Linked DNA regions of Homo sapiens: all the other regions are linked to region 2. The links are contacts of gene promoters, found by promoter capture Hi-C in blood cells and fetal thymus (Javierre and others, 2016). All regions are on one chromosome and are shown on one strand. Each heading gives the region's core, a stretch centred on a gene start or on the middle of the fragment in contact. The rest is flanking DNA. Distances are from core to core; before and after follow the strand shown. Region 1 has its middle 41 kb from the start of SLC39A8. Region 2 holds the start of BDH2 (3-hydroxybutyrate dehydrogenase 2). Region 3 overlaps NFKB1 (nuclear factor kappa B subunit 1). Region 4 has its middle 68 kb from the start of SLC39A8. Region 5 overlaps NFKB1-AS1 (NFKB1 antisense RNA 1). Region 6 overlaps NFKB1-AS1 (NFKB1 antisense RNA 1). Region 7 overlaps NFKB1 (nuclear factor kappa B subunit 1).

What was found. Contacts are between HindIII fragments. The CHiCAGO score rates a contact against its expected background, and 5 or more counts as called.
Region 1: a fragment that was not itself captured here is called in contact with the fragment with the promoter of BDH2 in region 2 in 2 of 17 cell types (monocytes and total CD4 T cells); the score reaches 7.6 in monocytes.
Region 3: a fragment that was not itself captured here is called in contact with the fragment with the promoter of BDH2 in region 2 in 6 of 17 cell types (total CD8 T cells, naive CD4 T cells, total B cells and 3 more); the score reaches 6.7 in total CD8 T cells.
Region 4: a fragment that was not itself captured here is called in contact with the fragment with the promoter of BDH2 in region 2 in 8 of 17 cell types (non-activated CD4 T cells, total CD4 T cells, fetal thymus and 5 more); the score reaches 8.4 in non-activated CD4 T cells.
Region 5: a contact is called between a fragment that was not itself captured here and the fragment with the promoter of BDH2 in region 2, in 5 of 17 cell types (naive B cells, total B cells, naive CD4 T cells and 2 more). The highest score is 8.2, in naive B cells.
Region 6: a contact is called between a fragment that was not itself captured here and the fragment with the promoter of BDH2 in region 2, in 2 of 17 cell types (naive CD8 T cells and non-activated CD4 T cells). The highest score is 7.7, in naive CD8 T cells.
Region 7: a contact is called between a fragment that was not itself captured here and the fragment with the promoter of BDH2 in region 2, in 4 of 17 cell types (total CD4 T cells, naive CD4 T cells, non-activated CD4 T cells and 1 more). The highest score is 5.9, in total CD4 T cells.

What each region holds. Positions count from the first base shown.
Region 1 is chr4:102,384,686-102,388,193 of GRCh38, reverse strand. No RefSeq gene overlaps it. Among named protein-coding and RNA genes, the nearest start is that of SLC39A8, 41 kb to the right of the region's middle. The HindIII fragment of the contact is 4,429 bases long and covers 1-3,508 here.
Region 2 is chr4:103,098,345-103,102,035 of GRCh38, reverse strand. BDH2 (3-hydroxybutyrate dehydrogenase 2) reads left to right here and starts at 2,202. Exons shown (of 10, transcript NM_020139.4): 1 at 2,202-2,253. The HindIII fragment of the contact is 3,413 bases long and covers 1-3,085 here.
Region 3 is chr4:102,531,822-102,535,352 of GRCh38, reverse strand. NFKB1 (nuclear factor kappa B subunit 1) reads right to left here. Exons shown (of 24, transcript NM_003998.4): 4 at 1,468-1,508. Among named protein-coding and RNA genes, the nearest start is that of NFKB1-AS1, 31 kb to the right of the region's middle. The HindIII fragment of the contact is 1,939 bases long and covers 505-2,443 here.
Region 4 is chr4:102,411,494-102,415,120 of GRCh38, reverse strand. No RefSeq gene overlaps it. Among named protein-coding and RNA genes, the nearest start is that of SLC39A8, 68 kb to the right of the region's middle. The HindIII fragment of the contact is 4,802 bases long and covers 1-3,627 here.
Region 5 is chr4:102,460,435-102,463,809 of GRCh38, reverse strand. The region is part of intron 1 of NFKB1-AS1 (NFKB1 antisense RNA 1); the gene reads left to right. It also overlaps the pseudogene LOC100419863. Among named protein-coding and RNA genes, the nearest start is that of NFKB1, 39 kb to the left of the region's middle. RefSeq lists an enhancer at 1-287. The HindIII fragment of the contact is 3,110 bases long and covers 361-3,375 here.
Region 6 is chr4:102,492,334-102,496,206 of GRCh38, reverse strand. The region is part of intron 1 of NFKB1-AS1 (NFKB1 antisense RNA 1); the gene reads left to right. Among named protein-coding and RNA genes, the nearest start is that of NFKB1, 7.1 kb to the left of the region's middle. The HindIII fragment of the contact is 691 bases long and covers 1,555-2,245 here.
Region 7 is chr4:102,515,851-102,519,744 of GRCh38, reverse strand. The region is part of intron 1 of NFKB1 (nuclear factor kappa B subunit 1); the gene reads right to left. Among named protein-coding and RNA genes, the nearest start is that of NFKB1-AS1, 15 kb to the right of the region's middle. The HindIII fragment of the contact is 5,636 bases long and covers 1-3,894 here.

The DNA.
Region 1 (3,508 bases), core at 226-2,725, 710 kb after region 2:
GTGCACCAGTGAAAAGGTTAAAAATAATAAGATTTAAGGCTTTCTCAGAAGTATGGGGTGGTCAGTGAATGCATTCACTGGGGGATGAAGGACATGGGAAGGGGGCTGAGACTTGAAGGATTCAGGGACTGATAAGATGCCGTGAAGATGAGGCAAGGGAGCCATTTCAAGCTAAAGAGTGGGAGGAGGATGGTTTGAGCAGAGATCTGGTGCAGAAAAGAGAAGAATGCCTGGAGGCAAGTTGGGTAACTGCAGGAGATAAGGTTTGGCAAGGTAAAAATGGGCCAGATGGTTGAGGGCTAGGCACAGGAATTCAGATTTTTGTCTTGCACAGATTTCAGAGTTTGAATTAGGAAATAATTTGACTTAGAGACTGTAAACACCCAGAAAAATGTAAGAGACAGCAGTTATGTAGGCTTTGTGATTATTGTAGAACTTCAGAACGGAAATGAATAATCTGACCTATGTGGACAGTGATGGGGATGGAAAAGCAGGGATGCATGTTAGTGAAGTTGCACAAGAGGAATCAAAAGCATTTGGTAACATGATCTAGGGGTGAGGGGCAGGTAACTTTCAAACTTTTTGATGATGATCATAACAAGAAATGCATTTATATATTTTGCTTATAATTACATATACATATATATGTTGTACATTTATAAAAAACGGAAATGAAAATTCTAAAAAAAAGTTTACGCTTACTCTAATTGATGTACATTGATATTTGTTTCCTTCCATTCTATTAAAAAATAAACTGATATTAATCCATGAAAATGATTTTATGAACCATGAGTGAGTTGTTATTTGAACACAATGTTTGTAGGGGTATAATTTAAAGGATACCAGAAAATTGTCCTTCTCCAAGATTTCTTACTGATTTTGCATTTCCAGAATTGGAAATTGAAATTTTGGTCCTGTGTTAAAGCAAATCTCTTTGGAAAGGCATAAACTTTGCAACCTTTTACCTTACAGTGAGCAATTTATTATCTTTCCTGGAAATCATGTTACGTTAGAGCAGACAATAGGGAAAATATGGAAGCCTGAGATGTTTGTCTGAAAGGTTGCGAAAGGCAAGACGGTGTTGAGACAGAAATGTTGTCCTCTTTAAAATTTTATATAGAAGTTACTACAATAAGTACAAGACAAAATTAATATTCACTCATTCATTCTCACTTAATCACAAGATAAAATTAATATTCACTCATTCATTCTCACTTAATCTTAGCCAAAAAACTGAGAAGCAATAATATTCATTCTCTGAATGAGGAAGAAAGACTTGAAGGAAGGTGGAACAAGGATTGGCAAACAGGATAGTAAGCCATTGTTTCTCAGCCATGAGGAGAAGATGCTAACCAGTACATCTGGAAGGTGAAGAACAGGAGAAGGAGAGGTTTGGAATAACCAGGAATAGGAATAGAGGGAGAAGGTGGGAGTGTAACTGTCTCAGGAGAGCGTTATATGTCAATGTATCATGTCAATGAGCCATGATAAAAGTGACTCTAGTCCTCAGGTTTAGGCAAGTTGCTTAGTCTGGGTCCTCTATCTTTTGTTGTGAAGACTCGATTTCACTAGAGTAACTGTCCAAACAAACCAACACACAGAGAATTAGGAAAATGGGTTCCTAATTCATCTGTGGTATTGTCAGGAGAATAGGAGAGTCAGGCAGTTAGTGTTCTTCTAGTGGTTCCAAGGATTAGAGGAAAATCATATTGGAGAAAGGGCATAGGGCACATGCCTTAATTTATGTGTATGGAGAAGGATGCTCTCTGGATGGCTGTGATAATCCCAGGTATCTCACGTTTTCAGCTTCAATTTGGTGTGTGGTCTGCATCTCCATGATTTTGTCTGGGCTGAGGGGTCAGTCGTGAACACTTCAGGGTTATTTTGCACCAGGCCGCTTAGTCCTATCTAGAATATGGCAAATCACTCTTAGATCTAAGATATCAATTTAGCAGAAACAGCAGTCAGTGAGTGAAGTCAAATAATTTCAATGGTGCACAATGGATGTATTAAATTTTATCATAGCACTAACCTCTTCTATCAATTGTGTAAGATTACTTTTCTCTTGAAAGACCAGTACCCTTAGAAGAAAGATCAATCTTCTCTTATTAATGCCTCTCTTAAACAGAGGCATTAAACTTACATATTTGCAACTTCTGCTTAACATTTATAATTAAGAATTCCTCCTTAATTTGGAGTAAATTATATAGAACTAGAATAAAAGATGAGTTCCCTTTGCCAATTTATAGAGCAGGAGCTGGATAAAAGGATGCGGCCATGCTGTTTTCTTCTCAGAGCTACATCTGCTCCAGTGCCTGAGGAGATGCCCAAGGCACAGTTCAAAGTCTCTATTTCTAATCTCTAGTGAGAGTTTGATAGGAAGAATGTGGACTTATCCTTCCTTGTCCTGAAATTGAGAGGAAGAGAGGGATGTGTGTGACTCCCCTCCCCGTGTTCAGGGACTTTGCCATCAAAGCCTTGCATTATTCCAGGAGTCCCCACTTGCTTTAGTTCGATGGAAAGAGAATTTAGCTGGATGGAGGAATCAGGAATTCCCCCTGAATATTGTGTGCCAAGGAAATCTTTTTTGTTTCCAGTAATCATAAAATAACCCATAACACCCAGATGGGTCTGATTCCTGGACCTCAACACAAATGTCCCCTCATTCTCTACTCTCTTTCAGATATAAAGGTAAATGCTATCTAAGCCACAGTAACCTTGAGATACTGTGGGCCTGGGGCAGAGAAGAGCATCTGTAGAAGAGGCAGTGGACCACAGTACTGGATCTGGAAGTTCTGAGCCTTTACTTGTTGAGGAGCAGTGAGTACCTATTTGGGATTTCTGGTGAGTAACATCACCTGCCTCCTCTGACAGAACTCCATTATCATGTCATTGATTTCTCAGTGAACCATACTCTAAAGGTATTACTAGGAGAATCTGGTCTGTGAACATATGCTCATAGTTCTGTGTCATAGGAACAGGTATAAGAATTTCAAGGAAATAAGCATATCAAATGGTCACTGTGGAAGACTAATTCGCTGTCTACATTGAGTTAGCATTTGCACATTTCACATGACTCCACACCCATGATAAATGATGAAGAACAACAATAGGAAGCATGCAACCAGCCAACTGCTCTGAGGGCCCAGAAGGGCTGACTTTGGGAAACTGACTCTCCATCCTTTGGAAAACAAGGCTGAAGGGTCCTGACTTTTTCAGCACAGCCCTCTCCATGCAAACTGTCATGAGGCAAAACACTGGGTCATAGACCTGTGATTCCCAGCCAGTGTGATATAGGTGTCAGATGATATGTTCATAAGAACATGGTAAAATGAGAAAAATCACAAAATGGAGTAAGTTTGTAAATAGGTCCAAGATTATTACAGTTAAAGGAATTTTCCTTATTTTAAGATTATACTCGGGGATGTGGCAAGATGACCAAATAGGAACAGCTGTAGTCTGCAGCTCCTAGTGAGACCAACACAGAAGGGGGGTGATTTCTGCATTT
Region 2 (3,691 bases), core at 953-3,452:
TACCCAGTTCACTGATTCCAATGCCGATCTCTTCCAGAAACACTCAGAGATGTCCCAGAAATAATGCTTACCAGCTCTCTGGGGATCCGTAAATCCAGTCAAGTTGACACCTAAAATTAATTATCACAAACATTGTCTTGAGAGCCTGGCAGAATTATATTCAGGAAACTTATTAAGAAACTGCCATTCACTCAGCAAATATTTAATGAGCATCTACTATCTGCCAATTACTGTTTTAGGCACTGAAAGGCACTACCAATGTGGAACTCATATTGTAGATAAGAAAACAAGTAACTAATACTCTTTTAATACGAGCTAATCACAATGTAAAGGTGTAAAACATAGTCCCCACCCTTGAAGAAATTTAGTCTGCTGAGAATACTAATGGGTAAGCAAGTATTTGCAATACCATGTGACTTAGGCTGTTATCAAGTAAGCATTGTTGCTGAAGATTACAGAGGGATGCTGAAGAAAGCTACATCAAGAAGCATTGGAGTTGGCTTTGATTAGAGAACTCTCATAAAGTCTGTTCCAAAAGCCTCAAAAGTCAAAGGGCATTATTAGTAAAGCAGGAACAAAGCTAGATGTGATTACAGATTGTTAGAGCCAGCATTAGAAGTTGCTGAAACAATGAACAAGGAGGGACAATTTTACCATAGACCTCATATAGACACATGCAGAAACTAAGTCCAGTTTTTAAAAGAACATTAAAAAGCGCAACTTTTACCATCCATTATAATTAAATTTCTCCAACAATGTCTTCATCATAAGAATCACTAACATGTATTAAGCACCTGTGTGGCAAACATTGTGCTGATGGATTCACAGGCTTAGTCGTTCCTCCTCACCACATCCCTGAGGTAGGTGCTATTTTACCTTCATTTTACAGATGAGAAACATAAGAGGTTCAGAGATTTAAGTGATTTACTCACTTAGCTAGTGAGAGAGAGATATGGGACTTGCTCTAGTCTTACTGACGCCACAGTCTTTGTTCTTATCCCCTGTGACTGTTAGAAATCACTTAGCTCCATGTAACAAAAAACGTGAAAAACACTAAAGTTTATTGTCCTCACATAAGAAGTCCAGAGGAGTTGTTGCCTTGAGGCTGTCATCAGGGCCGCAGGCTCCTTCTCTTGCTGGTCCCTGTCGTTAATGTGTGCCTCTGGCCTCAGATGAACTCACTAAATGGCTGCTCTGTCCCACGGCATCCTATCTTCATTCCAGGCAAAAAGAAAGGGAGGAGCAAAAGCTAAAAGCCTTTCAGAAGGGCTTACTTTTCTATTTAAGAAGGAGGCCCTCCTCAGAAATTCCCACCTGCATTTCATTGGCAACATCTATGCTGCTTGGCCACCCCTAGCAGCAAACAAGGCTATGAAGTAGAGACTTTTGTTTTCCAGCTTTGACAAGTGAAAAAAGGGGAAAGTGAGTTGGATGGGTGCTGAGGAAACCAATTTATACAGTACATGTACAAGTAGCCTACACAATCACTCTGCTCACTGGCACTACAGATAAAGCACATGTTGCTATCCTAACCTAGAGGGCTCATGAGATCTAGTCCTTTCTTTTTGACCTTATATCTCTGTTCTCTTCAGCCAAACTGGGGTTTTTCGCTGTTAACATGTTCCCTTTTAAGCCTCCACCCTGTCATCCAAGTTTCACGTTCTCCCCAACCCCATTCCCAGTGTAGTAAAAGGCTCCTGGCATTCTGCCACTAAATGTGCATTAGTGTTAGAATATTCTGAGCATGAAAAAATAAAAATCACAACTGTATCTCAAACAAAAAGGATTTTTTTTTTTATTTCTCTCCCTTAAAACAATCCAGGCCAAGTGACAGGAAGGCTCCAGAATTTTCAGTGACCTGGGTTCCCTCTATTTTGTTGCTCTGCTATCTTCCACACGCAGTTTCCAGCTCAGCCAATCTCGTCTACCCTGGCACCGCATATAGTAGGCATAAACAAAACAGAGAAGTGGAGAGACTGAAGTGAAGGAAATGATTTCCGCATCCTAAGTAAGCTCTAAGGTGCTTTTCCACTTTTCACCTTCCACTTGGAATTCATAGTTCTACCTGAATTCCACTAGATGGCAGCACATACATTTATAAAGTGTATGGATGGAGCCACTAAACTCTGAAAGCAGGGAAACTACAAATCCCAGCATGCATTATTAAGCGCTTGACTTGCTTCCAGACAAAGGTTGTCTCAAGTTTGTTGCTCAAACCGAGTTCTGGAGAACGCCATCAGCTCGCTGCTTAAAGTAAGATTTCCTAATACTTTTGAAATGAAACTTTAGAACGGAAAGAGGGGAGGTTTAATTTTTAGATGTTGTTTTTTTCTGCACGTTGCCTGTTTCAAAATTAATCTGAGCAGTTAGATCAGTGTAAAGATGGGTTTTTAAAGAGCCTGAAACTCTGTGGTATGTATGTTTTATAAAGTAGCCCAAGAAAAAAGGATTCTTACGGTATCCTAAGTGAAGAGTTTTCTTCCTGGCTCTTGAAAACAATGGCTTCCTGAATATGCTGTTTGTGTCTCTGCTAATCAAAAATCAACATTTTGATTCTAACTTTTGGACTAAGGAAGCCAACATGTATGGTTTTCACATTGGATATATTGAGAGGTGCCTTGTTTTACCATTTCAGGCCGTGTTTGCTCTCATTTTCTCAAAGAAATCTGTTTTAGTTTGAGATTACAGTTTATCAAATGTTAAGGCTTTGACCCCAAAATCTGGTCCCAGAAAGACAGGAAGGCCAGCTAAGAGGAGGTTTTCAGAGTGCATAGAAAGGCTGCTCTGTGCTTCGGCATTTGTTCTGGAAGTGCTTCTTCGGTTGGCAAAGATTCCTAGCAAAACCTTTGACTGGAGGCTTTACAGGGCCATACACCCAATATCACTAATGACAGTGTTGTAAAATAGCTTTTGTGCACCATGCTTAGGATTCAAGGAGGATAAAGTATATCTTTCTAAAGTTATACTTTAGAAACTGTCATTCCATGTTGAAATGATAAACATTCCATGTTTATCTTTTGTGTAAGAAGTAAAAAAGCAAAAATTCATTGCATCAAAGTAGGTCAGGCACTGTTAAAGCCAAGCTTCCCCATCGCCTAAAAAATGTGGACAAACTCAGAGGAAGTCAGTGATTATAAGCTGATCCCTGGAGCCAGTTCTTACATAATTGTGTTAGTCTGCTCCTCCAAGAAGCAGACTCCAAGATAGAATTAAATATGCATGGATTTTATTAGGGGAAATGCTGTTGTGAGAGAGAATGAGGAGAGAACTAGGTAAGGCTGTGAGAGCCATCAGACCTCGATGCAAGTCCACCCGCGAGGGAGGAAAAGAAGGAAACCAGGTTGAGTGGAAGCATCCCAGACAGCTGTGCAGTCTAAGAGAACTTCAGCAAGGTAATAAGGAGCTTCTCTAGCCAGTCATCCGTTGGGGAGGAGGTCTATGTCTCCCAGAAATGAGTCTGCCTTAGTAAGCATGCATGCTCAGGCACTGGCTTGTAACGGCCCCGAGAAGGTGGCCTCAGCACAAACCCAGAGAGGCAGCAGCAGCTGCGCCTCATTGTCCATTACTTCCTGGGGTCAGCGGTCTGCGAGGCACAGGCTCCTGGTGCCACAGTGGGGATTTAGAGAGGCCCGCAGGGCTTTGAGTACCATGAGACAATGCCATGAGATCTTCCCTTGGACCTGCAACAAGA
Region 3 (3,531 bases), core at 225-2,724, 570 kb after region 2:
CTGTTGGATCCATAATAAGGAATTACATTTAAAAATTCTTATTGTAGTGCTATGCTTATGAAAATGATATTGGAAAAAATACTTTGGCATATGCAGACAAATTTCAGTTGATTTCTGTTTCATAGACTACCTAGATCTTAAAAGCTGGGAAATTTTCCAGGATGCCAGAGCCCACAGAACTTTAAGGGATAAAATTTCACTGGGAATTGATGACCTTCTCTGAGAAATAACTGCTTAAAAGAGTTGAACATGGAGGTAGAGCAATGGAGTGTTACTGGCAACCTGAGGAGTCAGGATGTGACACCTGCAAGAACTAGAACCATGCCCCAAAGTTTCATGTGGCATTCTTGCCCCCACAGCAAAAACTTTCATCTAATTTCAACCTTATAAGGATAGCCTGTTCAGCAATCATTAAGACATTTATATCAAATGCTGACCAAATATAACACATATATAATGTCACGATTCTGGAAACCACAACGCAGTGGATGCTTTATTTAAGCTTGTGACCTAGTTAGCATGTGTTAAATGTTACAAAATGCAAAAGTGTTTCACTCACCTGAGCTAATGAAAAGAATACTTAGAAAATGTATTGGGTAATACAGCTGCAAGAGGACAGGTATCCATATCCTCAGTCACACACAAATGTGATTAGTTTATCCATCCAAAGATTTACTGACTGTCCTCATTCTGTGGGGAACTACACCATTATTTCCATTCCCTAATAACTGAAACCTCCTATAGGCAGACATTAAAGATTGCCTTTCTTTCTCTTTCACAGCATTGGTCCCATCCAATTTCCTATAAATATCCACAGAGTTGGATACAGTGAGGAGGCCATTTCAGTTCTGAGCTATTCTCTACAGACTCTAGTGGTAAGGGGAAGCACCTGAAAAAATGTTCCTCTCCTGACTCCAAAGAGGCTGACACCAGAGGGAAGAGAATTCAATAGTTCATTCTAACATTTTACTTCCCACTGGTACTTTCAGTATGTTAGGTTACATGTTCCAAAGGCAGCACAGAAAAGGCTGGGGCTACCAAAGGAAGGAGGAAGGCTAAGAGGTACTACATGTGCAAGGATAATAGATGGATATCGCTCAGTGCATGTGAACTGTATGCATACGTATTTCCTTATAAATGAAAATGAATGGAAATCACCTCTGCCTTTCCTGGGAGTGGCTGGTAAGTTAAGCTGGTAGAGACAGCAGAATACTGTAATTAACTGTAATTCTAATACTGTAATTAACTGCAGTTTTACAGAACTACATACTGAGGCTCAGGACAGTGTGAACAATGAGTAAGAGAAATGTAAAGTGAATGAATAAAGCTGTTACATAATTTGTCAGGTTGTTGATCTTTCAGATAAACTACTTCCTTCATAGAACTCATTTACTATTCTTCAGTGCTTATGATCTCAATATTAGACACTGGAATCTAACATTTAAAGTCCCACCCCTTTAATCTTACCTGTTTAGGTTGCTCTAATATTTGAAGGTATGGGCCATCTGCTAAAAACAAAAACAACAAACAGAAACCAAAAGAAACTGTGAGGCTTCTCAAATTTGGTATAAAACGTAAAGCAAGTAAAAAACTGAAATTATGTTTTTATGTAGAAATTTCAAATCAATTTTTGGTTAAAATTCCACAAGGATATAATTTCTCTTCCTTGTCTGAAATATTAAATTAACCCTTATTTTAACAATAGTTTTACGAGTTTAGCGAACCACAATAAGTAAATGTTTGTTGAAAGGTGATGGCACATTTCCTAACCCAATAAAAGGCATATGGCCGGCAAGAATTGATGTCAACAGCCTTCATAATCTTGTCTCCTAACAAAGCATTTTAAAATGACAAATACCAATTAAAAGCAGCAACCACTTCTGGGCACTATGACATTTTCTTTGGCCTTCACATCATTAGACACTGACTTTCCTTCCTCAAAGAGAGTGTGCTTAATGTGAAATTAAAAGATACTGATCTAGCAACCTGTATGTATACGTCTGATAGACAGATAATGATCTCAGGCTATCTCTTTTTCCTTACACTAGGTTTTCTGTTCCCGTCTTTACTTGAAGGGAAAGTACTGCCTTCATTCCTTAACTGGTTAGTTTGTTTCCCCTTTCCTCCCCGACACTCCCAATGTAATCTGGTCTATCAGACATGGTAAAATTTTCATATTAATCCATAACTTTTGATGTTTATAAGCAATTTTGAATATTGTGCTATCATATAAACTGTGTTCTAAAACATCTCAGGCATTTTATAAAATACTGAAAATAATTTAATTGAAGATAGGTACATGCAAATTAGTTATTGTAAAAACGCAAAGAAAACTAGAGGCTTAATCCATACCCTAATGGTATCTGACTTGAAAATTCAAAGGAAAATCAGAATCTCTGACAACATAAGTACAAACTGTTCAATATGAAAAAGTCCTTAAGCTTCCCAGCTGATTTTTATGTCAATAGTACAATAATCCATAGCTTTGCAATAAATAAAGGCATATGGTGGTTCTCATTTATTTGAATGTAAATTAAGATGTTTGGTGCTAAAAATATTTTAGGAGAATGCTTGTATGTCCATTTTAATCTTCATTTTCTCTCAGAAAGAAGCTCAAGACCTCTTATTTTAAATAAATTTGTAAGGAGATAAACCTTCAGGTTGAAATTAAAAATAAACTATAACACAAAAGAGAATTTTCTCAAAATTTTTTTTATTTTTTTTTGAGACAGAGTCTCACTCTGTCACCCAGGCTGGAGTGCCATGGCACAATCTCGGCTCACCACAATCTCTGCTTCCTGGGTTCAAGCAATTCTCTGCCTCAGCCTCCAGAGGAGCTGGAATTACAGGCGCCTACCACCATGCCCAGCTAATTTTTGTATTTTTTTAGTAGAGACGGGGTTTCACCATCTTGGCCAGGCTGGTCTTGAACTCCTGAGCTCGTGATCTACCTGCCTTGGCCTCCCAAAGTGCTGGGATTACAGGCGTGAGCCACCTCACCCGGCCAGAGAATTTATTTTTATCTTTTCAATATTATGATAAATCAGGATAAGGCTAGAGAACTGGAGAAAACAAGGGTATAATTACTTCCTGTTATTATTCAAGAAATTTACAAGGAAGCGAGTTGAAAAATGAATGCATCTGAAATGAAGCATACACAAGAAAAAAAAGGGGGAGTCACTGGTCAATGTATTAAATTACCATCTTTTGTCTGTATGAAATTCACCCCTGGACATTTTAAATTACTTTTAGAAACATAATCATAATTTAAAAATTCCCCCACCAAATGGCTAGAATTTAATTTTGGATATGGAAATAAAATTGATTAGAAATAGAAATATTTTCACACTAAGATACAGCCTGTATGACAATGTAACACTTATAAAAACATTCCCTGTTAAAATGGTGAAAGAACATATCAAGACAGTCCTCTAACAGAGCAATATTTGGATGTCATGAAAAATACAGAGGAGTTGGAAGCATGTTTACATTAAACTTCAAGTCTCTCACTTTTTATTAACTCTGCTAAAA
Region 4 (3,627 bases), core at 129-2,628, 690 kb after region 2:
ACAGGCCCCAGTGTGTGATGTTCCCCTTCCTGTGTCCAAGTGTTCTCATGGTTCAATTCCCACCTGTGAGTGAGAACGTGCGGTGTTTGTTTTTTTGTCCTTGTGATAGTTTGCTAAAAATGATGGTTTCCAGCTTCACCCATGTCCCTACAAAGGACGTGAACTCATCCTTTTTTATGGCTGCATAGTGTGTATGTGTCACATTTTCTTAATCCAGTCTATCATTGATGGACATTTGGGTCGGTTCCAAGTCTTTGCTATTGTGAATAGTGCCACAATAAACATATGCGTGCATGTGTCTTTATAGCAGCATGATTTATAATCCTTTGGGTATATATCCAGTAATGGGATGGCTGGGTCATATGGTATTTCTAGTTCTAGATCCTTGAGGAATCGCCACACTGTCTTCTCCAGTGGCCAGGTTTAATACTGGTGGAATATGAATAGAACATAGATATTTTTCTGAAGTCTTGTTCATCAGCACTTGCTTCTCTAACTTTGGAGCTATGTGGTCCTGAATATGTCTGGACACAGAACAGACTTCTTGTTCTTTCCTTCCTTCTCACCTTACTTTTCATCAGTGTTTTATGGAAAAAGTATAAGATTTGGAGTTAGACTGATCAACGTTTCAATCTTCATTCTGCAACTATCACCTTACTGGACCTTGGGCACCTTATTTTATCTCTATGAGTCTCAGTGCTTCATCTGTAAAAAGATAATTGCAGCATCTGCTCTGCAGGTGATTATAAGGACTAGCAATGTTGACTGCCTGGTGAGTTGTAGTTGTTTAATGAGTGGAAATATTATTGTTATAATTACTAATATTAATATCATCATCATTCTTCCAGTGTGAAGGGTAAGACAAGACAATCTGCATATTGACATGGAGGTAGATCTATCCCATGATACTTCAGATACAGTTGCTTTGCTGATTTGGGCAACTCTATCTGCATGGGTATAAAGTGAAGGAGCTATGCAAGCAAAAGAGGAGGGGGCAGGGAGGGAGAGAGAGACAGAGAGAGTGGAAGGGAGGAGAGGGAGAGGAGGAAGTATTAACTGTGAAGACAAGTGACATTTGTGTGATCTTTTGTTGTTTTTATTACTGCATCCATCTCCAAATTGGAGTCTATCTCTAAAACCTATGGATCTTTTATATTAATTTCCCAGAAAGTAAAATGAGGCTCCTATAATGTCTTTCAAGTGGTTTTCTTTCCTGTGAGGAGACAGATGCCAGAGCTTACACACAGGCTTTCTGGAGCTAGAGGAGGAAGCAGGAGGCATGTCTGGTGAAGCACATGGGCAAGGTATGTACACCAAAAAAGTGTGTGTGTGTGTGTGTGTGTGTGTGTATTGGGGTGAGGGTTGGTTATTGTGACCTGGCCCAGAGTATAGGACAAGCCCTGACCCTGAGTCTCTTTGGGTCAGCTCTTGTAATAGAGGGCAAAAGAGCCACTTTCTCTCAAGATAGGTAGACTCAGATATCGATTAACTGAGGGAAGCCCTTTGACAAAAGCTGTGGTTGAGGCAGGTTATTTTCTTACAAAATTATTCATTTTAGCTTCTTTTTATGTCCTAATCTACTTTTCTTATTTTGTCCTATTCTCTCATGCTTAGGTAAAACACTATTTTCATTTTTTTCTACTAATCATGGATAATTCACTTTTTCAAATTATTTAGTTGTAAAAGTGTCACAAACTTTTAATTTGGCTTGGCTAGGGGGCAAATGACCACTTTGTGGGGCTAGTGTATAGTCAGGACATTGCTAAATTTTGGTAGAGTGAATTTGCCTCTAATTCAAAATAGAATATTTTCTGGAGTGCTCTTGGGAGCCAACATCATTGCTGAGAAATAATCTTGCTAGCACTTTAGATTTTACAATGTAAATAATTATATTTATTTATTCCAGGTAAATATCTGACTTAAGCTACCTCAAGAGCATCTCATATTGTCATCGATTAGGAGAGTGTGTTTTTCTCTTTTTGCTGTTTCCTGTTGAAGGCCAAAGCTACACTTTTTACAGGAAGATGAGAATGGCCATAAAGTCTTCCATAATCTAATTCTGGTCTCAGTCCTCCTCACTCTTTCACTTCGGCTCCAGAAATAATGAACCACTTATAACCCCTTCTTCTCCCTGATGTTGTTTTATGTTTCCCTGTCTTTGGTTGTCTCTATCTGCAGTCTCCTCCAGAAACCTCTTCCTGCCTTTCCTATGCCCTGTGTATATATAGCAAAATTGGACTCATTCATTTTTAAAAGTCAGCTTTATTAAGGCATAATACAATGCAATATATATGATAAATTTTACCAATTTTTAAGAGTATGTACAATTCAATGGCTTTTGACAGACTTATATAGTCATATAAGCACTACAATTGTAATCTAGAACATTACTCTGCAAAAATGTTCCTATGTCACCTTGCAGTCTATCCCCTCCTCCTGCCCCCGGCCCCAACATCTGCTGATTTGTTTTCTGTCACTATAGTTGTGTCTTTAAAATAATTTCATATAAATTGAATTATTCATTATGTAGTCTTCTACATCCAGCATACTGCACTTAGCATAATGTTTCTGTATTTTGTTTTTGAGACAGAGTCTCAATCTGTTGCCCAGGCTGGAGTGCAGTGGCCTGATCTTGGCTCATGGCAACCTCTGCCTCCCAGGCTCAAGTGATCCTTTCACCTCAGCCTCCTGAATAGCTGGGACTACAGGCATGCACCACTAACTTGGCTAATTTTTTGTAGAGAAATGTTCTCACTATAGTGCCCTGTCTGGTGTCTAACTCCTGGACTTAAGCAATCCTCCCTCCTCAGCCTCCCAATGTGCTGGGATTACAGGCATGAGCCACTGTGTCCAGCGAGCATAATGTTTTTGAGATTCATCCATGATGTTGCCTGTATCAGTAGTTCATTCTTACTGTTGTCAGGTATGCTACTGTGTGGATGTACCACAATTTGCTCATCCATTCAATAGTTATTGGGCATATGGTGTTCACACTTCCAACTTTCTCTAGTTCCTTTCCTGATATCTACCTCTGCCACAAAAAGCTACATAGGCTTAATCTTTTCCTTTGTATCTGTAGAAATGATTCTCACTGTTAATAATTATTTGTCTATGAATGTGTTTCCATTAATAGACTGAAATCCTTGAGAGTAGAAACTGGGTTTATTCATCCACTTTCCCCAATGCCTACTGCATAGTTAGGGCTCAATAAAGTTGGCTGACTAGAACAAATATACCCTTTAAAGCTGACCTCCAGTTTAGCCTAAAACAAGATGAAAGATTAAAATTAGAGCCATTGCTTCCTTACTGTGAATGTGGCACTAGTTTTATGACCCAAACAGTGAAGAAAAGGGGAGGAAAATGCATGTTTATGGTTGACATCTGGGAATAGCTTGAATTTTCCATGAAAAAAATGTATTTTGGCATTTGGGACTGTATGAAATGAATTAACCATCTCTGATTGGTTTCAGATTTACAAGTTTCTAAGGAATTTGAAAAGGGTGTGGCAGTTAAGCAATAGTGGAAGCTCTACATATTGAATAAACTAAGAATTTTGAAGGTTGCACAAGTTCCGAAAATGGTCCAGCCCTTTTCAGTAAACATCTAATAAGTTTCTCAATAGTGGAA
Region 5 (3,375 bases), core at 666-3,165, 640 kb after region 2:
CGTATATATGTATACATGTATATATATGTGTATACATGTATATATATATGTATATGTATCTCCTCACATCTTGAGGAAATACTGTAGTCAACATGGAATATACTTCAGTTACCTTTATTCTTCAGTCCACATCAATGAATGGAAGAGAAATTGTAAGGCATGTATGTAGCAAAGACTTGTTAGTGATCTGATCATAATTGACATGAGAGAGCTGAAACTGTCAACATAATAAACTAAAAGTCTTAAGCAACAGCTTTGACTTAAAACATGTGGGACTTTCAGGTAGAGAATCTCTAGCTCTGCATTCAGTGTGAAAATGTTTTTTATTTGCAATTTATTGTCAAATAACATAAGAAAGCTTTACTTGGATGAACCCTTTATTTGTATTTTCTGTGACTAAACATTCAGCCAAGCACCAGTTTTGATGTTCACAAGAAAACACAGTGATAAAATGTTGCTAAAATGGAAAATAAGAGAGGAAAGCCTTTATAAGCTAAATAAGAAAGGAAAATCTTACCGAGAGCAATGAATTCTCTTGAAATACCAAATACTTATTACTGGAGAAATTATGCAATGAAAAATCATGAGAAATCCTTTCTTCATAGAGCAACACTTGTGGCACATGTCAAATTTCACACTGGACAAAACACAGTCAGCATCTTGAAATGAGAAAACTCTTCAGTGGTAATTCATTTCTTAGTTGACATTAAGTTTCTCACATTGAGGAGCTATCAAACCTGAAAATCACTGTAGAGAAACCTGATAGATTTCTCATCAGAAAAGTGAGTCAAGAAGGTGGACCTCTAGAAAAAACTCTTAGCACATAGTTTAGCAAAATAATTCAGAAATTTGAGAAAATGTCTATTCATAAAAATGTGGCATGTAAATGTATAATAGCAAATTGACCTGGGAATAAATTGAATGCAGAATTATATAAGAAATTTCATTAAACTTTTCCAAAAGATCAATACTTACAAATATTGAAATAATGCAAAAATAATACTTACAAAATAATTATAAAATAATACTTACAAATATTGAAATATATATACGTTATATATAACACATATATATACACATTTTCTTTTTTCCAACAATATATGTATATATGTAACATATATGTATATATGTTACATATATACATATAGAGCTAGAGACTCTCTATATAGAGATTCCATGTATACATATAGAGCTAGAGATTCTCTACCTGAAAGTCCCACATGTTTTAAGTCAAAGCTGTTGCTTAAGACTTTTAGTTTATTATGTTGACAGTTTCAGCTCTCTCATGTCGTTTATGATCAGATCACTAACAAGTCTTTGCTACATACATGCCATACAATTTCTCTTCCATTCATTGATGTGGACTGAAGAATAAACGTAACCGAAGTATACTCCATGTTGATTACAGTATTTCCTCAAGATTTGAGTCCTTTGGCATGTTTAGATGTTACAACTATAGCTGAAGTCTCTTCCACATTCCTTACATTCGTCATTCCTAACACCATGTCATCTAAAGTCAGAATATGTTCTGAAGATGTTTATAATTTTCTCTCTAGGGTGAATTTTCTCATGCTATTTAAGATTAGTACATTGACTGAAGTCTTTCACACATAAATGGCATTCAAATGGCTTTTCTCCAGTGCATGTTCTCTCATGTCATCTAAGGTCAGAAGATAGACTGAAGGCTTTCCCACATAGAAGACATACATGTAGTTTCTCTCCAGTGTGATTTTTTTTATGCTCTCTAAAGCCAGAGCTCTGACTAAAGGCTTTCCCACCTTTATCACATTCATAACATCTCTTTCCAAGGTAAGTTCTCTAATGTCTTTGAAGGTTTAAGGATTGAATATAGGCTTTCCCACACTGATGACACTTATGTGGTCTCTCTCCCATGTGAGTTTTCTCATGTCTTCTAAGGTGAGAACACTGAATGAAGGCTTTTGCACATAGATGACATGCATATGGTCTCTCTCCAGTGTGAGTCAACTTGTGCTGCCTAAGGTGAAAGCGATTAGTATAAGCCTTTTCACATAGATTACGTTGATATGACTTACCTTTAGTATGAATTTATGTTGTTTAGGGGACAACTGATTACTAAAGGATTTTCCACACTGTTTGCTGATGTAGGGTTTCTTTCCACTGTGAGTTAACAAACATGGAGTCATTGTGGAACTGTGAGTGCAATCTTCTCCCAAATCATTATGTTCAAAGGGATCCTCTGGAATGAGAGATTTCTCCATTGTCAAACTGGTGGATGAGTCTTTTCTGATGATAGGATGCATGGATATCATGTGTTTTTTCTTAAGGGCAGTTTCCCTGTCTGGACTCTGGCCTTGAAGAAATTCTCTTCCTTCCCTCCATAGCTCTTTTCTTTGTTCCAGCTACAAAATTATATAGGATTTGCTTATCTGATGCCCGAGGGACACCAGGTGACTGATGTTTTCCAGCATCACATCTCTGTACAGCTTTCTCTTGGATATGTCCATCAAGAGAAAGCTCCACTCTTCTGGGCGAAGTCAATAGCTACATCTTCAAAGGTCACTTTCTTTAGTGAATGCATTGTCAAGAGCTCAGTTTCTCTCTGTCTTCTTCTGGATTTTCCCTTTTAGATGTTTCAGGCACTAAGAAAGAGCTGAGTCAAGTTAGACAGCTGAGCTGAGTGAAATACAGAGGTAGAGGAAGTAGCAGAAAGGCACGGGGAGCTCGCTGGATCCCCAAGTAGCCCATTCCTGCCTGGCACCACAGGCATCCATCAGGAGGATGGCCAGAGGAGCAGGGGGTAAAACTTCACGGGAAGGTCTTCTCTAGCTGAACTTTGTAACAATTTGAGCAGAACGAGAAGCCTCCTAGCCAGAATTCATATATTAAATTTTCTTTATCCACTCGTTGATTGATGGGCATTTGGGCTGGTTCCACATTTTTGCAATTGCAAATTGCACTGCTATAAACATGTGTGTGCAAGTATCTTTTTTGTATAATGACTTATTTTCCTCTGGGTAAATACCTAGTAGTGGGATTGCTGGATCAAGTGGTAGATCTACTTTTAGTTCTTTAGGGAATCTCCACACTGTTTTCCACAGTGGTTGTACCAGTTTATATTCCAATCAACAGTGTAAAAGTCTTCCCTTTTCACCACATCCATGCCAACATCTATTATTTTTTGATTATGGCCATTCTTGCAGGAGTGAGGTGGTATCACATTGTGGTTTTGACTTGAGTTTTTCTGATAATTAGTGATGCTGAGCATTTTCCATATGCTTGTTGGCCATTTGTATATCATCTTTTGAGAATTGTCTATTCACATCCTTAGCCCACTTTTTGATGGGATTGTTCATTTTTTCTTGCTGATTTGTTTGAGTTCTTTGTAGATTCTGG
Region 6 (3,873 bases), core at 651-3,150, 610 kb after region 2:
TGGAAATAGAGACTTAACTCATCCCGGTTGATCCAGGACTATCTTGCTTTTAGCACAGAGAGTCCCTTGCGCAGGAAACCCTCAGGCTCTAGTAAACCAGGGTGATTGGTCATGCTATATGAAGCCGACAAAACTGTTCTGAGTGAAATAAGGCTAGTTACTGGACATCATTGAGACAGCTGCCAATTACTTGTTTTTATGGAGGAGGTTTGCTTCTGTTTTCTGAAAGGTTGTATATCTGGCTGTCAAATCTATTCATAAGTGATGGTCTGACACTTATACATGCCTCTTTAATAAGATAAATATGGTTTTGCATATATATAACTCCTGATAAGCTTTTACAGAAATCTGAAAGAAATGTGAAATTATGTCATTTATTAATATATTGTTAATAAATACAAGTTATTAATATTAATATACTATATTTATTATATTAATAATGTTATATGATATTTACTTTATAACTATTGCAATATAAAATTAATATTTATATAATACCAATTATATAATTATTAATAATAATATAAAATAATAATTGTACACATCAATATATAATTATTGATTTATATATAAAGCTATATATAATTTATAAGTTATATAATTCTATATTATATAGAAGTCAATATATAATTTATTATATATTATAACTATTGTATATTATATATCATATACATTTATATATAATATATTGTTTATGTATAAATTATATGTTTAATAATATAATGATTATATTAACAATAACATTAATATATAATATTAATATTAATGTTTTTGTATATTAATATAATAAGCTTGGATTTTGGAAGCATGTTATATGGCTCCCTGGGTCTCAAGATTTGATGTTTCAACAGTTACATTCCTAGTCCATTATCTTTTGTAACATTTCCTCTCTTTCATTTTCCCTAGACTTGTTTTCTGGAATTTAAATTAGGTATATGTTAGATCTTCTCAATCTAATCTCTGTGTCTTTTAATATCTCTTATCTCTTTGGATTTCATTCTGGATAATTTCTTTATATTTGCCTTCTAGTTTATCAATTCTCTTTTCAGCTATATTTCATATGCTGTTTAATATGTCAACTGAATTATAAATAATAAATTGCTTACGTTTCTTGAAACAATCTCTGGAAATTATTTGAAGCTTAGGTTAAAATTGAGTAAGGAATATTTGTGCTTCTTTTTGCCTGTTATCTGGTATACTATTAACTTGGAAAAACCTTAAATAAAATTTTTTACTTGTGTGCTTTTGATCATCACATATAGTGTAAGTGGTTATGAATTCACAGGTGAGAATTTCTTCTTTTTCTGTCCAGTGACAAGGACTAGATAGGCAGTGTTATCGTTTGAACATGTCCCCCAAAGTTCCTGTGTTGGGACTTAACTCCCCATTCAACAGTGTTGAGAGGTGAGACCTTTGAGAGCTGATTGGGTCATGAGGTCTCTACCCCCATAAATGGATGAATGCCATTATTGTAGGAGTAGGTTACTTTCTCTCTTGAGTGTCTGCTCTTTTGCTCTTCTGCCTTTCACTATGGGATGATGTAGCAAGAAAGCTTTCACAAGATGCTGGCACCTTGATATTGGACTTCCCAGCCTCCAGAACTGTGAGATACAAATTTCTTTTCATTATAAATTACCCAGTCTGTGGTTTTCTGTGATAGCAACACAAAACAGACTAAGTCAATTTCTCAGCTATTCCCTCCAGTTTTTCAGTTTTGGAAATATTTAGATTCCTGAATTTCATGCCGGCTAAGCAGTATTAATTTTTAAAAATATGTTATGTAGCATTTCAGTTATTTCCATTAGTTATTTCATTTTAGTTATTTCAACCAGGAAGGGTATACTGTCAGAAACACATGGAGTCATTACCTATTTTTAAAATATGTATATTTTATCATTCTAGCATCTATCATATATTTAACTCCTAATCTTTAATTATATCTTCTTGAGTGAATTTATTACTTTTTAGAAAAGTTTTCACCTGGCTCTTCTAACAGTTCTATTTCAACAAAACACCTGTTTGAAGTGTTTATCTTAGTTTTCCTCTCTGGCTTGCTAGTACTACTAGGGCAAGTTATTATTTTCCATTTCCTGTTCAGACCTCAGGCTCTGTATACACTGACCTATAATTACAGGACAAGTAGTTAGGGTCTTTTATGCAGTGGCAAACCTGCCAGGGGAAAGGTTTCTGCTTTTGTGGGCTGGCAGTAAACCAACTGGCAATCTGTCCACACCCAGCTGAAGCTTTAAAAAAAGTCTTTCTTCTCCCAGAGCTCCCTGGGTGCAAGGGAGAATGCTTGCCTAACCTCAGGGGCTACAAGCAACTCTTCCATGAGTGCAGCGTTCCTCCATATGACCTGTCACTACCCAGATTAGTCTGACCTTCCCAAGAACACACACAAATAAGCCCATGTAATGCTTTCCTGAAGGCATTCATAGGTTTCCTCAGGCTAACTTTCACTGGAAGCCATAAAATTGAGACCTTTGTTTTAAGTCTTTCTATAACAAGGCCCTCCAGACTACCTAAAACAGAGAAGAGTGAGAGTATCTCTTTCCTTTTAGAGACCCTGGAGCCTGTGACCTCAAGTGACCCTGCTTTAGATGCCCCTGCTTACCTGCAGTAGCATTTTTTCTTGTTGGGGAAAGTAATTGAGAAGAGATTGGGAGGGTAAATTTGGGGACCTGTGTTCCATTACTATCTTCTTACAATGCTGTGAGTCACATGTCTACTTTTAGTGACAAGGAGGGTCTATCTCATCTGGAAGACATGAATTAGTAATGCTAGATTATGGTTAGCTAAGCGTAAATTGGGGCACTGTTATCAAAAAAAGGAAGAAGGGAAGACAAAGAGTATAAACAACAGATATCACCTCTATGTAGCACCTGTAAGGCTTATGCATAGTAGGTATACATAGATATACTTATCTGTTTTACTGATAGACATATCAGTAGATATACAGATCAGTTTTTTACTGCATTTTCTTTGAAATAAGTAATATAATTAAATGCCAGGAAGAGAGTTTTTTTCCAATGGCGTATTATAAATTATCAATATAATGCTGAGCATATACTTATCTTGGTTAGGATGCTTTTCACCTAAGGTGAAAAGATGTAAAATTATGACTCAAAATGACTTAACCATTATGGAATTTCATCAGGTCACATCGTTGAAAATCTTTAGGTTTAATGTAATCACAATTCTGGCTCTCTTCCCTTCAGAGACATTTTCTTTTCTTCTGTCCCTGTGTTAACAGTTTCCTCATGCTGGCTTTTCTCTTGGTCAAAAGATGGCTTCCAGATATACTAGGGACATACTTTCTTGTTGTAAGAGATGGGGTTGGGGGATTGGAGAGAGAGAGAGAGAGAGAGTTGTTTTTGATATATATATATACCCATGAGACCATCACCATAATAAAGACAGTGACCATGTGCATCAGCTGAAAAGTTTTCTCATGGCCCTCTGCAGTTCCTCATTTCCATTCCTCACTCCTCCACATTCCTAAGCAACCACTGATTTGCTTTCTGTCATAGATTAGTTTGCATTTTCTAGAGTTTCATATAAATGGAATCATACAGTAGGTACTATTTTTTATCTGACTTCTTTCATTGAGCATGATTATCTTAAAATTCATCCACCTTGTTGTATCAGTAGTTAATTCCTTTTTATTGTTGAGTAGCATTCCATTGTATAGATAGTCACAATTTATTTATCCATTTTCCTGTTCATAGACATTTAGGTTGTTTCCAGTTTTGGGATATATTAATAAAACCACTAAAACATTTGTGTGTAACTATTTAACTGTTTATATAGACATATACTTTCTTTTGTCATGGGAAATACCTACAAGTGAAATGGCTAGAGCGTATAGTTAGC
Region 7 (3,894 bases), core at 918-3,417, 580 kb after region 2:
TTCTTTCAGTTGTTTAGGAGGCAGAAGTGGTTTTCCTCTTTGGCATATAACATTACTTATTTTAATATAGTATCTTTGCTTCAGGTCTCCCAAGTGTTCTGGTTAGAGCTAGTCTACCCATAGCACAGCCTGAAAAGCAGAATAGGATTCTGACAATACACAAAATGAGTTATTCACAAGGCAATCACCTATGAAGATAAAAATACCAAACAATGTTAACTCAAGTGATAGTTCTTTTTTTAAAAAAAAATTTTCTTTGGTCTATCTCAAAAGATAGAAGGAGAATAAAGAGATTCTCCCTGAACCATGTCTATACTCACTGATGGTATGATAAAAGTATATATACTTATAATATTATATATAATTATATACATATACTTACATATTAAAACTATATATTTTATATATATACTTTATATATAACATATAAATATTTTATATAATATATAATATACTTATATATGAAAACTATATGTGTATATACTTATATATTAAACTATGTCAAATGTATATAATATATATAATTTAAAACTACAGTATATTGAAATACTACCTGAATGTTTTCCTTCCTTCATTAATTTAGTCATTCACCTAAAAATATTTATGCCTACTATGCCAACAACACCAAAGTGCAAAAGAGTGATGCAGTTCCTGTACTCACAGAGCTTACGGTTGTGGCAGATTGAAATCAATGGCCACACTTTTTTTTATATGCCACTCAACAAGAGGAAACATCTATTTCTCTGTGCTTTGAGTCTTGGCAGACCTACGGACATACTCTGACCAATAGGAAGAGGTAGAAGTACAAGTTCTAAACCCAGCTTATAAGAGGCCTTGCAATGATCATTCTTGCTTTCTTGGAACATTGTTACCATGCAAACAAGCCTGCACCAGCCACTGGAAAATCAAAGACCATGTGGAGCACAGACAGGCAGTCCTAGCTGAGGCTCCCTAGCACCAGCTGAGTAGCCAAAACAACTTCAGACAAACAGCAGTAGGGCACCAGCTGAGTAGCTACAAACAGTACCAGTCAAGTAGCCAAAAGACCTCAGAGATTAGCCAAAGCAGGCCAGGCCAGATGAACTAGGCAGCCCACAGAATTGGAAGAAGTAATCAGTATCTTTTAATTTGCTTTGTGGTGATTCTCCTTTTTTTTAATGCAACAAAAGCAAACTAATTCAACAGTTTAGGAAGTAGGAAGGCAAATAGGCAAAAACAATGCAATATAATATGTGTCATGGGAAATGGAGTATATGTGGGGTATGGGTTAATTATCTTGGTAATTCAGTGATCACACTTTGTTAGAGTTCTAGTCAAAGCCCACTTTGTACTCATTTTTTTACTCTATTAGTTTACTCAATTCCCAACTGAACAAAAGAGGCAAGTATAGTAGCCAAAACACTGTGGTGTATACATAAAATTAAAACTGTTAAAACTTTCAGAGTGCAAATATTAATAAATCACTGTTAGCTTTAAGCAGTGATACCTTTAAAACAAGTTAATGTTTTAAATCCCTTCACCTCTCTATCTAAAAGCAATTTCATCATTCCTGCTGCAATGAGCCCCATTTTTGACTTTGCAATTTCTGCCAATATATCATTTTCACACATATCTAGTCAATAACCAATTTCTGCTGATTATTTTCTTCATGTTGTTTCTTGGATCTGCCCCTTCTTTCCAACATCCTAGGAGAGACCTTTATTGCTTCACCTCTGAATGACAGTAATAGGCTCTGTACTGTTCTCCCTCACTGCAGGGTTTCTTCCTCTTCAAGAATCTTTCACATTATTGCCATATTACTTATAAGATAAAGTCCAAAGACTTCAACCACTCAGCACATTACATTATTATATTAAATCATATTATAAGCATCAACTACTACTATGTCCTAATCAAAACCCTCTATGATAGACAGATTAATCATTCAGAATGACTTGCTCATTTCCATCTTGTACATTTGTTCACAATATGCCCTGCATCCTGAAATGCCATCTTTTCTACCTCAATAGCATCCACTCTTCAAGGCTCTAGTTAAATCCAATTTCTGCCAAGAAATCCTATATTTTTCCTATAACCTATAGCTCTGTAGTCACATAATATCTATAAAACTTATATATACTGGTGATTTAACACTAGACAGCATAGTTTTACTGCAATCTAACTTTACCTATATATTTATCATCTTCTCAAATGGATAGAAGTTCCTAAAAAGTAGAGATGGGAGTTTTGCTTTTTTGTATTGGCAAATTGGAAAACACTGGTTTTTTTGTTTTTGTTTTTTAAGTAATACTGTATTAATTTTAAGAAGCACTGCAATTTCAAGTTTGTCAGAATGTCAAATTCTGGTTTTAGTTATCACAGATTAACAGTTATCTGAACCTCCCTCCTTGCTATACTCAACTGTGAAACCATACAAAATACCTAAAGATGTAATTTAAGACATTGGACTTCATAGGGCTATATATTATAAGGTGATTTAGGTAAATTCTAAATTCGCCCTCACTTTTTGACTGAGGACACTTTCCAAATCATGACACAGGGAGAGCCCAAAGAGAGAACACCAATGGGCAGAATATCACAAAGAAAGGCTTTACACAAAAAGCAAGAGCCTCAGAAATCTACATAGGGGTCATCTCTGGTCACTGGCCAAATACCAAGCTGTGATAGTGTAGGACAAGACCCTGCAAAACCTAATAGAAAACAGTTTCTGGGCATCTAAGAGCTAAATGGAAATTCCGGACATCATATAGTGCTGAGAGACACTGAATTTGTAATAATCCAGGGTGGAAAGACATCACTGAACATTGTGAGCATTCAGTTGTGATTTCAGAAAGACCACACGATGGGAGTTAGAAACATCCTAAAATAAGGGCTACTCTAAACCTATCTTAATAAAACTAGGTGATCCACCAGTAAATTCACTGCCTGTTACAACAAAGCTCAACACGTTTTAAAGGAAGACAAAAAACCCAAACTCTCCACAATGTACAATAAAACATAATGAAGCCTGCAAAGAAATAGGAAAATAAGACTGAGAAAAAAAATGACACAAATGACAAAAATAGCTAATAGCATATGGTCAATAATGTAAAGGAAAAGATGAACATAATGAGAGAACAGATAGGCAATATCAGCAAAGAAATGCATACCTTTCTTTTAAAAAAAAGAATGGAAATTTTAGAACTGAAATGAAATTTCACTAGATGGACTTAGCATATTTAACATTATAGAAGAAAGTACCAATAAACTAGAAGAAAGGTCAATAAAAACTACCCAAACTGAATTACAGAGAAAAAAAGGTAGAAAGAAGTGAACACAGCTTCAGTGACCTACAGGACAATATTAAGCAGTCTTACGTATTTGTAACATAGAATCCCAGAAACAGAAAAAAGACAGAAAAAATATTCAAAAAAATAACAGTTGAGAATTTTTATAAATTTGATTTTTAAAAAATCAACCCACAGATCCAAGAATCTCAAAGATCTCTCTGCTGGATAAAGACAAATAAAACCATGGTTAGGCATATTACAGCCAAACTGTTAAAAACTAATGCTAGAGAAAAAAAAAATCCCAAAATAGCAAAGGACAAGAAAGGACATATTATATATGGGGGAACAATTGATAAGCATGATAAGCATGATGTTTCTGATGATCATTAGATACAGTACAAGCTAGAAGGCAATGTAAAGGCACCTTTACAGTGATAAAAGAAAAAAAAAGATTGGTCCAGAATATTCAGCAAATAAATCTTTTAAAAATAAAGGTGAAATTGACATTTTCAAGTAAACAAGAGCTAAGAGTATTCATCACCAGCAGACCTGCTAAAAGACATGCTAAAAAGAAGTTCTTCATGCTGAAGGGAAATGATAGACACTTGGACCTGTATGAAAGAAT